3 separate regions of the Homo sapiens genome follow, and all the other regions are linked to region 3. Evidence: promoter capture Hi-C in 16 types of primary human blood cells and fetal thymus (Javierre and others, 2016). All regions are on one chromosome and are shown on one strand. The core of a region is centred on a gene start or on the middle of the fragment in contact, and the rest is flanking DNA. Distances in the headings are between cores, read along the strand shown.

What was found. The method cuts DNA at HindIII sites, captures the fragments that hold promoters and counts their contacts. A CHiCAGO score of 5 or more calls a contact.
Region 1: a fragment that was not itself captured here is called in contact with the fragment with the promoter of MKKS in region 3 in 3 of 17 cell types (non-activated CD4 T cells, total B cells and naive CD4 T cells); the score reaches 12.0 in non-activated CD4 T cells.
Region 2: a contact is called between a fragment that was not itself captured here and the fragment with the promoter of MKKS in region 3, in 3 of 17 cell types (total B cells, non-activated CD4 T cells and naive CD4 T cells). The highest score is 11.4, in total B cells.

Annotation. Positions count from the first base shown.
Region 1 is chr20:16,724,666-16,729,017 of GRCh38, forward strand. No RefSeq gene overlaps it. Among named protein-coding and RNA genes, the nearest start is that of SNRPB2, 3.2 kb to the right of the region's middle. The HindIII fragment of the contact is 4,524 bases long and covers 1-4,233 here.
Region 2 is chr20:16,577,659-16,581,737 of GRCh38, forward strand. It overlaps LOC124904875 (a long non-coding RNA gene), which reads left to right. Exons shown (of 2, transcript XR_007067539.1): 2 at 1,221-1,701. Among named protein-coding and RNA genes, the nearest start is that of KIF16B, 6.2 kb to the left of the region's middle. RefSeq lists an enhancer at 3,718-3,887. The HindIII fragment of the contact is 1,688 bases long and covers 695-2,382 here.
Region 3 is chr20:10,431,272-10,435,752 of GRCh38, forward strand. MKKS (MKKS centrosomal shuttling protein) reads right to left here and starts at 2,951. Exons shown (of 6, transcript NM_170784.3): 1 at 2,837-2,951. SLX4IP (SLX4 interacting protein) reads left to right here and starts at 4,034. Exons shown (of 8, transcript NM_001009608.3): 1 at 4,034-4,182. LOC128706665 reads right to left here and starts at 2,951. Exons shown (of 3, transcript NM_001394148.2): 1 at 2,837-2,951. LOC128706666 reads right to left here and starts at 2,951. Exons shown (of 3, transcript NM_001394149.2): 1 at 2,837-2,951. RefSeq lists enhancers at 346-847, 2,798-2,857, 3,748-3,977, 4,138-4,187. The HindIII fragment of the contact is 4,604 bases long and covers 1-4,049 here.

The DNA.
Region 1 (4,352 bases), core at 722-3,221, 6.3 Mb after region 3:
ACAGAGTCTTGCTCTGTTGCCCAGGCTGGAGTGCAGTGGCACGATCTCAGCTTACTGCAACCTCCGCTTCCTGGGTTGAAGCAATTCTCCCTCAGCCTCCCAAGTAGCTGGGATTACAGGAGCATGCAACATGCCTGGCTAATTTTTGTATGTTCAGTAGAGATGGGGTTTCACCATGTTGGCCAGGCTGGTCTTGAACTCCTGACTTCAAGCAATCTGCCTGCCTCGGCATCCCAAAGTGCTGTGATTACAGGCTGGGTGTGAGCCACCACGCCCAGCCAAGAATTATTTCTCAGAGGTGATTTTGATCAATGTATAAAGTCAGGAGGCGCTAGGCTATGCTGCATTAACAAATATCCCCTAAATATCAGTTAATTATTTCTTGCTTTTATTACATGACCAGTTTGAATTTGTGTGTGTGTGTGTGTGTGTGTGTGTGTGTGTGTGTGTGTGTGTGTGTTGGGCAGGAGGAGGGTGTCCTTTAATCATTAGTGCCTACACTTGACAGAGGTTCCATCTTGCAATATGTTTCCAAGATCACAAGGACAGGAAAAAGGGCACCTGGCAAATTGTGCACTGGCCTGTGATGCTCCTACTTGGAAGTGATGCATGTCTCATGCTCTCACAATTCATTAGCCAAAGCAGTGACTTGGCCATGCCAATTTTCAAAGGATGTAGAGTAGTGCAAGCCCTCCATGAGCCTGGAAGGAGCAAGAATCACAGTATTTGTGAAGAGCTGAAATGACTACCACAAATTAGAAAGTGACCCAGGGCTCCCCAAATAAGCAATCACCTGTTAAAAAGAATAAATATTCCAGACTTTCTTTCTCTCCAGGTTTATGTCTACATGCCCAGTAGAAGACAGTTAAAATAAAGTTTCAAATAAATACGAGCTCCTTTGAAAGAAATAGTTGATTTGTGTTTCAAAAGGAAGATAGTATTCTGTATCTGGTAGTATCTCTATGGCTCTAGAGATAACTACAGTTTGATACTAGAATAATCTACCAACCATTTTTTTCTTTTTTCTTTTCTTTCTTTTTTTTTTTTTTGAGATGAGGTCTTGCTCTGTTACTCAGGCTGGAGTGCAGTGGTGTGATCTCAGCTCACTGCAACCTCCACCTCACAGGTTCAAGCAATTCTCCCACCTTCCCACCTCAGCCTCTGAAGTAGCTGGGACTACAGGCATGCACTATGGCACCAGACTAATTTTTGTGTGTGTATATATATATTTTTTTTAATTTTTTATTTTTTTAATAGAGATGGGGTTTCACAATGTTGGTCAGGCTGGTCTCAAGCTCCTGACCTCAAGTGATCCACCCACCTCAGCCTCCCAAAGCTCTAGGACTACAGGCATGAGCCACCATGCCTGGCCTACCAACCATTCTTTTTTTTCTTCTTTTTTTTTTTTTTTGAGACAGAATCTGACTCTGTTGTCCAGGCTGGAGTGCAGTGGCATGATCTTGGCTCACTGCAACCTCCACCTCCTGAGTTCAAGCGATTCTCCTGCCTCAGCCTCCAGAATAGCTGGGATTACAGGCGCCTGCCACCACGCCCAGCTAATTTTGTATTTATAGTAGAGACAGGGTTTCACTGTGTTGGCCAGGCTGGTCTCGAACTCATAACCTTGTGATCCGCCTGCCTCGGCCTCTCAAAGTGCTGAGATTACAAACTGAGCCACCGCGCCCGACCCCAACCATTCTTAAAAAAGAAATGCTTAGGTTCTTGCTACCCAAAATGCGGTATGGGACCAGCAGCATCAGCATCATCCGGGAGTTTGCTACAAATGCAGCTTCTCAGCACTGGATTAAGATATCTGGGGAATGCCCAAGAAATCAACAATATATCACTTTTGAAATTACACAATCAGGGCCTGACAGTCTTTTTTTTTTTTTAAAGCTGTTCTTTTTAAATTTTGTGTTTTCAAACTGTCCTAAGGCTTAAGACTCAAAAAAAATTACAGGGATTAATCATAGGGGAAGCAAAACCCATTATATTTAAAAGTTGTGTGTGCATAATATTTTATTTCATGGGAGCATCTCATGGGACTGAAATCTTAATTTTCTAGTCTCAAAGAGAACGACAGTTGTATGATGCTACTTTAGCTCCTTTAGGGAAGGGCAGGTGATACAATACTGAGCACAACCTACATGTCTCACAAAAAGTTCACCAAAAAAGTTCAGGTTTTCCCCACACTTCTTTGGATTAATGATCAGGTCCTCAAAGAAAAACTACCATTTCCAAACTTTATGGAATGTGCACATTCTCATAGCCTATCTGAGACATCACCCATTCTGGGGAGAGGGTATTTTGCTGCATGTGAAAGACACACTATTCTTAACATTAATACAGTAGTGAACATCAGAGGCAATAGTCATATTTGGGTTTCTTTCATTCCTAAAAGCAAGAATGTATCCACAAAGAATGAAATGTAAGAATTAAGTAAAATGAAAGAAAATTGCACAAAATTATTTCCTCCCTGAATTGGGGGTGGGAGAGTGGTGCTTTTTAGGAAGTTTCAGTCAACATTATCCCAACCTCCCTGGAAAACATAAACCTGATTTGGTGCTCAACAATAACGCCTAGATTTGTTTAATGCTTGTTGTGAAAATAATTTCACTCTAGATACATTTCTTAATGTAATCACCACCTGGGGAGAGAAAGAAGATACAAACGAATTGCCATACATTTTGTGACTCTATGTAACATAAATAAGACAAAATTTATCCACCAGTTTTATGGTGCATTTTCCTTTATACATGGCTCCTTCTTAAAACTACTGCAGCAAGATACCAAAAACAATTAATGAGAAACATAAAACACGTGCAGATAAGGTAGGGAAATGTATGTGTATTCAGAGTCACTAAGAGACACCTCAGTTATCTTCCTTATAATTTAGACATCTTGGCACAGTTTTATTCCCTACTGTTTGTAGTAATTTTTCTGCTACTCCCAAAATAAGCAAGTTTTATCATCTGCAAATACATGACACTTGGATAGGGTGGTTATAACGCTGCCTCCTTGTTTCTCTCGATTAAAAAAAGCCTGTTTCACAGGAAAATAAATCACGATACCTAACCCAAATGTGAAAGAACAGACTGAGCAGAACTAACAAAACTCATTTGCTCTTCTAGTTTTTAAAAATGTGAGTTTTGGACATCTGATTCCTGATCTCACCCTCAAGAAGTGGATCTGGTTATAAAGTGATGATGTTTTACAGTACATGTGACCATAGTTTAGCTGCTATAATATTCTTAATATAGTTACATAGCCAGGCTATGCAAGGTTTCTCACAAAACCAGAAAAGCTATTCGATCCTTATCATTCCCTTCCTGTACTGTTCTCAATAACTGGCTTCTCAAATCGTTCAGGAAACCACTGAGAATCATTAACGGGTTATTGGAATGCCCAGAGTGACTGCCCAAGGACAGGAAAATGCACTGGCTCTTTTTAGAAGAACCTGGAAAAGTGCATGCAGACCATTGCGGCTGAGTTGGCAATGGATGATTTCCTTCTCACAGTGTAATGTACAATAGCTGTAATTTAATTGTTAATAGAACACAACATGCAGTCTGTCTTCAGGCCTCTGTGTTTCTTGTGGTATTTTCTTCCCAGGTTGGAGTGTTTTTGTATAATCACATCTTATTCTCTTTTAACAGTTATCAACTCTTGGCTAGATCCCCTTATACAATACAGAGTATAGTTTATTCTCAGTAGTGTAGCCATCCTCATTATTATCAAACAGAACTAATTGCTGAGATGCTCATAGTAATATGCAAAACAGCTTGTCCTTTGTTATTTAGAAATTGTTTATATTAAGTTTATATTCTCTTTTAATTTGTTAAAGATATAATTCTTTGACTGAGATAGGACATTTCTTCTCATTGGTTTATTTATTTTAGAGATGAGATCTCACTATGTTGCCCAGGATGATTTTGAACTCCTGGACTCAACCAGTCCTCCTGTCTCAGCCTCCCCAAATGCTAGGATTACAGGTGTGAGCTACTACACTCAGCCATTTCTTCTAGTTTTAGATCTATATAATAAAACGATGCTTTTCTGTGATCCCTTAACATTCTCTACACTCAGGTGCATGTTCAAAGCATATTTGTTTTACTGTTGCCTAGTTTTCCATGTCATTCATTGAATTATCCAATGCATATTAATTATCAGTCACTTTTCCCATTACTAAGGGTACTTGAGTGAACAGAGCAGACAAAAACCCCACCCTTAAAAAGCTTATATTATTTTCAAGTTGTTGCAACTTTGGGTGTTTTTAAAAAATAAAAATTCCCAGCTGATAAAACCAACTTATTTGACAGCTACCTGCCTCACCAGTAGAACCAAGTTATAGC
Region 2 (4,079 bases), core at 289-2,788, 6.1 Mb after region 3:
TGCTAGAAGCACTCACCAGAAGCATTATATCACATGATACACTTAGTGTCTCCTACAGGAGTGCCTTACACCAAGGGACTTAAGTTGAATTTAAGAGCTATGTGGTGAGCCAATGAGAAAAACAAGTGTTTTCCTGGTTTTCAAATAAATGTATAATAAATAGTAGTACCAGAGACAGGAATCACAGATACCAAGTCCAAACCCAGCACCAATTTTTTTTTTTTTTTTTTTTTTTTTGATACAGAGTCTTGTTCTGTCCCCCACGCTGGAGTCCAGTGGCGCTATTTTGGCTCACTGCAACCTCCACCTCCCGGGTTCAAGTGATTCTCCTGCCTCAGCCTCCCAAGCTGCTGAGATTACAGGTGCCTGCCACCACACCTGGCTAATTTTTGTATTTTTAATAGAGACAGGATTTCACCATGTTGGCCAGGCTGGTCTCAAACTCCTGGCCTGAAGTGATTCACCTGCTTTGGCCTCCCAAAGTGCTGGGGTTACAGGTGTGAGCCACTGCGTCTGGCCTACGATTTTCATTTTCTAAGTCACAAAATTTAAAGTATATTTAGAATCTTCTAAAATACTAAACATTAAAAGCAGGAATAATTTGAAAAAGTATACTTTGGGGCTAGAGAGAAAATCTGAGCTCCAAAATCACAGTAAAGATAATTGCAAAAATCGTACTAAGTAATTTTAGTAAAGCTTTAGGCAGGTAACCATGAATGCCTGCTTTCTTTTATAGCAAAAGTGAATAAAGAAATCACATTAGATTCAATTTAATAGACGCTATCACCCTAAATCATAGTCATTTTATATACTAAGATAAAAATGATTGTTTTCAATTGCATATAACTGTATGCAACCATATATATAAAACTATGTGGTCATAAATAGTTCAGAACTGATAGACTGTAGAGTCTGTGGCCTCATTTTAACTTCGAAAGAGTGAGAAACCATGTTTATTTAAAGTGATTGGGAAAAGTTTCATGGATGAATTAGTTTTGGAGATCGGTCTTGCAGGAGGGACAGATTTGAACCCAGAAAATGGTGAGGAGGTGACTTCTAAAGCAGAGGAAATTCCTTGAACAAATGTTTAGTGTTGGAAAAGCGAGTCCTGCTTCTGGAATAGTGAGAAAGCCTCTTTACCTGAAGCACAGTGTAAAGTTTAAAAATAGTTGTAAATGCTTCTCTTCCCTGGACTCATACCTTGCGATGTCATTTTGCAGCTCCCCTCAATGGGAAGTAGAATCTCTTTCTCCACCTCTTCAATATGGCTGGCCCTGGAACTTCCCTTGGCACACAGAATGCAGCAGAATTGGCTTCATGTTGTTTCTAAGCCTTGGCCTCAGAGGCCTTGCATGCTTCCTAACCCTGGCTCTAGGAAACTTGCTGCTGTCATGTAAGCAAGCCCAGGCTAACCTACTGAATGTTGGTGTGTCCCAGTCAAATCCAGCACTGCAACCAATAGCCAGGCAGCCACCAGACATGTGAGTGGGGCCACCTCACACCAGCCAACCTCCACCAAGTCATCAGATGTATGAGTGAGAACAGCCCAGAACAACTGAGCCCGTCCAGACCAGCGGAACAACCAAGCTGACCAGTAGACTTAGGAGCAGTAAACAGATGATTGTTATGGAAGCCATTCTGTTTAGGGTGTGTGTGTTATTGCTTGCATCCAAATACATCCTATCTCATCTAATGAGAAAAGGCCCTGCTCAAGGGCTTTTGCAGCTGTAGTTGGGCGCCGGAAGTGTCTTTGTGGTCATTTCTTACTCCATACACGGGGAGATCAAGGCTCAGACCAGGTAGTGTGACTGTGGACAACACTTTCCTTACCCCTCTGTGACACTTAAATCAATGAAGCAGATTCACAGAAGCATGCATGCTCACTGAACACAGTATTTGCATTCCTACCTCCAAACCTTTGCTCCACCCATGCATCCAGTAAGAATGCCTACTTCCCTCCTCTCCTCCATCGAGTTCTTTCTTTGAGTTCTACCTTCCCTAGTCTTCCTCCACTGCACCAACCCACGGTGATCCCTGTCTCTTCCAAATGCTTTGTAACATGGTAGGCATCACTCACTTGTGACTCATTGGACCATTTTAAAACTTGGTTTTCTGTGTCTCTTTTCCAACAAAATTACAAATTCTTTGAGGGTAAAAGTCAGGCCTAATAGTTCTCTGTACTCCTAGTAGTGCCAGTGTGGTAAAAATTTAACTTGACAATTAGCAAAACCAATAAATTCCTTACACTATTCTGTTCCTGTAGGTAATCAGTATATGAATATGGATTCCTATGTGATGATTTTCTGGTCTATTTTGTCCCTTTTTTTTTTTTGTTACTTTAACCAGGCCATAACATAAAGGTTATGCCATTTGTTACTGTCAAGCTTAATTAAGCCCATTATAATTCGTTAACCCCTGTGCTTGCTTTGTAATTAACATTGATTAACACAAACAAGTACAAAATAGGCCATCAGCACTTTCCAGAAGTGCTGATTACAATTACATTGGTAATTCAATACGGTATAGAAGATGGCAGGATAGTAACTTGCACTCTGTTTACATAAGGAGACAAATGCTACCATGCAAAACTAAGCCAAGAAACAAAATACTTTCCTCATCCAACTCACTGATTAAACCCTTACCCTGTTAACTCACCCTATGACTGTGTAAACCTCCAGTAAGATTATTGAAGGCACAGCTCCAAGTAACTTGCTTAATTGCATTCCTGGGACAAAAGAGGGAAGCGCTTCAAAGCTGACAGACAGATGGTAGAGTGTCCAGTCACAGCAAAGCAGGCCCCGAGGCTCATGACAGACAACTCCAGGGCTGAGATCTCATTTGTAGCTCTGGGATAAAGTCCAGGGTTTGATGGCAGCAGGCTGAAGTGTAAAGATGCTCAACAATGCGCACCCCAGAGACACTGAATCTGAAAAAGCTTAGAGTGAATAAAAATCTGGAAATGAACTCTGTCTGTCTATTCACCATTCCCCCCATAAAAAAATTCCTATATTCCGGATGGTGTTCAAGTTCCCTTTCCACAGGACCTCAGCAGTCAGGGAGGTGCTCCTGCAATCTATGTGAAGGAGATTTCACCATGCCCACATGGGAATACAGTAGATTGCCAGTAGGGATGCCACACCTTTGCATTTCCTCGTATTTCCAGGAACAAAGCTGGGGTGCCTAGGAGCTGCAGCAGTTTTTCTTCTGTGTAAAATAAGCAAGCAGGACTCTGCCCCACTGCACTCCAGGGAAGGATTAAGAGAATTGATATCATCCAAATCAATTGGCCCTGTGCAGATGACTTGATAATGAGGCCATTGAGTTTTTATGGTTCACTATTATTGCTACAAAAATTATGCTGCAGAAATCATTCAAATGCTCAAAAAGGAGCATTAGTACGAAACTGGGTGTTCCAAAGTTGTTGCTGAGAGGTGTGTAATGTTCCTGAAGATCCCCAAGGCACTAAGACTTCTCTGTACATGAATGACTCATAGAGAAGAAATACACCAGATGAAAATATATGGAGAAGTTTGCCGAATGTCATATAACTTGTAAGTATTAGAGCCGAGGTCTGAACCCTGATATCTGTGTCCTTATAGCTCAGGCCTTTTCCTTCAGCCCCTCCTTCTCAGCAGAGATGTGTTGGAGAAATCACTAGAAATGGAAGAGCAGCTGTCAGAAGCAGAATTGAATGAAGTGATAGGGGAAAAACATACATGTTGATACAAATGGTCAGCCTTAAGCAAGACTGTGACATTGATGCAGCACAGGGAAGCCTCAAAATTGGGACTTAGCCCAGGAGGGTTCTTGGCTTCACCCAGGAAAGAATTCAAGGGTGAGCTGGTGGTGTTAGAATGCAACTATTACTGAAGTGGCAGTGTACGGCAGTAGCAGAGGCACTGCTTGCGGAGCAGGGATACCCCAGAGGCACTGTGCCCAGAGTAGCAGCTCAGAGGCAGTTCTGCACTCATATTTATATCCACTTTTAATTATATGCAAATTAAGGGGTGGTTTATGCAGAAATGTCTAGGAAAGTGTGGTAACTTCTGGGTTGTTGGGTTGTTGCCATGGAAAGGGGT
Region 3 (4,481 bases), core at 1,701-4,200:
AAGACAAATCCAAACACAGTCATGTATCCCACATTCACAATATTTAGGGATTAGCAATTTTCACTTCAAATATGTACAAGATTAATTCTATCCAAATGCTCACTTAGTGTCTATTAGGTGCTAGCAAGACTACTAGCCTCAGGGGGGAACTACCAAGAAGAGTAAGGCATGATTCTTGTCCTCAAGGAGAATACAGGTTTGAGAAGATAATGGGACAATCTTAATAAAACATAACTCAATGCTGTATAGGGTCAAAAAACCAAACCAAACCAAACCAAACCAAACCAAACCAAACCAAACCCGCACAAAAAACTGCATAAAGTCTTTACCAAGTTGACTCATTTTTCAAAATCATAGTTCTCATTTTTTCCTCTATCCTCCTCTGAATTAGTCTCAATCCATTTTTACTTACTCCATCTTTAGTTACGGCAGGGAGTCAAGATCTAGAAAAACTAGTCACTGCCACCCACGATAACAGAAGGTAGCAGCCACTTGTCTTCTCTGCTATATTCCTAGTGCGTAGCAGAAAAGTAGAGAATCTTGTCCCCTTTGGTCCACAGAGGATGGCTTATTCTTCTGCTTCAGCTCTTAGTTCAGATGTCACCTACTCAGAGAGCCTTTCTCTCAGCACTCAACCTAAAGTGTTTTCCCTCTCCCTCCCCATTATTCTCTAGCACGTGATTCCTTCAAAGCCCTACCTTTGTGATGAATGCTGTGATGTGCCACCCTGACCCCCCTAAGGAATGAAAGGCTTATTTCCCCAGCTCCTGGAAGAGCTGAGACAGACCTCGGCTGCCAGCCTCCGTCCATGATTGACTTGGCTGAAGAGAGTTGAAGTTAGGCCCTTTCCAGGGAAACAGACATCTAACGACAGATCAATCAAGGGGTATAAAAGCCTGGCCCTTCTCTTCAACTTTGAAGGGCCAACCCAGCACTAGAGTTCCTGTGGGACTGGTGGAGAACATCCTTGAGACTTCACTGCAGCTTAACTTTTTCTATTGCCCAATCCTGCTTCCTTTCTTCCTTGGTAATCATCCAAAAAGTCTTCTCTAGTAAATGTCCTGCCTCTAAATCTCCTCAGAGTCTGATTCTCAGGAAACCCAACCTAGGACAATCTAGAAACATCTTGCTCAATATCAATGTGCAATCACCCCTCAGTATTTGGGGGATTGCATCCAGGACCCATGATGGATACCCAAATCCAGATGCTCAGGTCCCTGATTTAAAAATTGTGTAGTAGGCCAGACGCCGTGGGTCATGCCTGTAATCCCAGCACTTTGGGATGCCGAGGCGGGTGGATCACCTGAGGTCAGGAGTTCAAGACCAGCCTGGCCAACATGGCGAAACACCATCTCTACTAAAAAATACAAAAATTAGCCAGGTGCAGTGGCGGGTGCCTGTAATCCCAAACTTCTCCGGAGGCTAAGGCAGGGAGAATTGCTTGAACCCGGGAGGCGGAGGTTGCACAGTGAGCAGAGATCCAGCTTCAGCCTGCGCGACAGAGCGAGACTCTTTGTCAAAAAAAAAAAAAAAAAAAAAAAAAATCGTGTAGTTTTGTACACAACTTGCCACCTCCTTCCATGTACCTTAAATAATCTCTAGGCTACTTATAATACCTAATACAACGTTAAATGCTATGTAAGTAGTTGTTACACTGCAGTGTTTAGGGAATGACAAGAAAAAAGGTCTGCACGTGTTCAGTACAGATGTAACCATCTTTTTTCCCCCAGAATGTTTTTATTTATTTATTTTCTTAAATAGAGTCTCTGTCGCCCAACCTGGAGTGCAGTGGCGTGATCTCCGCTCACCGCAACCTCCGCCTCCAGGGCTCAAGCGATTCTCCTGCCTCAACCTCCCAAGTAGCTGGGATTACAGGCGTGCGCCACTGCGCCCGGCTCATTTTTTTGTACTTTTAGCAGAGACCGGGTTTCGCCACGTTGGCCTGGCTGGCCCCAAACTCCTGACTCAAGTGATCCGCCCGCCTCGGGCTCCTAAAGTGCGGGGTTACAGGGGTGAGCCACCAAACCCCGCCGCCCCAAAATATTTTCTATCCGCAGTTGGTTGAATTCACACATGCGGAACTCATGGATAGGGAGCGTATTGTTTCTCCCCCATCACTAGAACATGGAGTCAGGACCGTGCAAGTCCCTCTTGGTCACTGCCGTATCTACTAACTCGGCAGTGCTGTAGACACGTGTATATCTGTTTATGGATAAACTGAAGATGTTAATGAATGAATGAAACCGTCATATTGAGTCTCTGAAACGGCAACAGGATTTGGGTATGGTCTTATCGGGGAGGAAGACGAGCATGACCTTAGAGGGTCATCCCTACAAGGTCCACAGCCCTGCAAGCCCCGCGGCTGCTTTCACGTAGCTGGCAGGGCCACGCTGCACAACGTCTCTAACGCCGTCGGAGGGCGGCCCCCACCTCCCGACAGCCTGGGGTACACCGTGCACCCTCCAGACAGTCAGGGGCACACGGGGCCCCTCCCAGCGAGGGAGGGGACGGGGAGTCACAGGTTCGGCGTAGAAGGCGGCAGCGCAGGTGGGAGCGTGGTGAGGCGCCACTCCTCCAGCTCTCCCCACCGGCGGGAAGACCTCCTCGCCGCCCGCATCCGTGCCGACCGCAACATTTACCATCGGCAGCTATTTCAGAGGTCGGTCTTTCGCCTCCTACAGAGAGCCAGCCTCCTCCTTGTCCCCGCCCTCAAATATCCTTCAGTGAGGACACCGGTGACCTTTGGGGGTGGAGAGGGAGGCGCCTACAAGCCCCTTCCCCTCTCTTCGGCCGGACACAAAGCGGGCTTTTCCACCTAGAGTCCCAGCGCTCTCACCTGCGCACCAGCCGTCGCGCCGCCCCAGGCCGCCACCGCCAGAGGCCCCAGAAACAGATCTCAAGCAGCCGCTGCTGCCGCGGATCCCGACAACCTTCGCGTCGCGCGAGGGCACGGAGCACGCGCAGCTCTGCGGTCGACGCCGGGCCGCCCCCACTCCGCTTCTCCGGGTTTTCCGTGAAGCTCCAGCCAACAGCGGCCGTCACCGGAAAAAACGGGGAGCGAAGTTTATTCAGCGTATATTCCAGCAAATTGTTGAAACTGAAATTTTAAAAGAACGCATAAAATTTAAATAACATATCAAAATGGCACAGCTTCTGCCTTTTGGTGAGCGCTTGACAATGATTTATTGAATGAAAGAAAGAAATAGTCCACTGCGCTCTGCTCTCTGTCCTGACATGACCAATTACAAAGCGCTTGGATTTGTCGCTCAGCGCCAGTATCCCGCCTCTCTGTGCGGTTGTCTGGAAAATCAGGATTTTTACTCTCCCGTAACTCCCGGGATCGGGTTTGGAAAACGGACATGCGCCGTGAGAGCTAGTTGCCTTCTACTAAAGCATCCGCCCTCAGTCCTTCCTGAGGGCTTACAGGGAAGTGCGGAGTTTCGCAGCTCGTACTCTTCACAGATTAGATAATTCACCCGGCATTTCCCCATCCTGCTTCTGGGTTCCAGGACAAAACTTTTATTCTCTTTTAACATTAAAAAACATATAGGAAGTTATGTTCAAACATGGCTATTTTTATTAAAATTTATCCGGCACTGTGAAAGCTACCTTTCCTTTCTCACAATCTTTCGCACCGAATATATGTTCCATTCTTGAGCTAGTCATTTTCCAATGTTAAGAAAACACACCACAGAAAAGCGTTTTTTTTTCTCTCGGTCAGTTCAACTGCCTAGCACCGTGAGTTACCATGATACGTTATTTGCTAATGAGAGTCATTGGGGTCCCAGCCTTTAAAAATAGCCTGCGTCCGGCGCCATTTTTGTTTTGGGCCCACTTTGAAAGCCGCGATATTCTGAACAGAGGCCATTTTTCTTTTGGGCAGATTCCACGGGCCATCGAAGTGTTTCGCTGCCATCTTAAATCCTGGCTGTGGCCTCAATCCTGCAGCGAAGCTGCCCAGATCATTTTGTGTTTGGGCGGCGGCTGAGTTCCCAAACGCGCGCGGAGACCCTGGGAAGGAGGAAGTAAGCGCGAAAGTGCTTCCCTTAAGCTTCTGAAGGTTGGCTGCAGTTCCGGCTACCTGTGTAGTCCGAGTTTCCACAGCCAGGTACTACTCCGCCAGTGACCCTGGACAGTAACAAAACATATAAAGCCCGAGCCCAAACCCCGCCACCATCATAGGTAAGCACATGGACCTCTGACAACCTCAGATGTTCCTTCAAGTGAACTGAACTGTTTGCCCATCTCCTCCCTCCTGGTTTTTGGCTTTGATTTTTTGAGACTTTTCCGAATCCTTCTCCCTGTACTTCCACCTTTCTTCATTGTTTTCAAAAAGCCAAAAAGTTGCTAAACATCAGGATGCCATGAGCATGGGCATTACGGTGGAGATATTATTCAGGAAAGTTAACTGTCTTTGCACAAAGGGAATGCAGTAGATGGGCCAGGTATTTGTATCAAATCATGGCTACCTGCATCCAGCA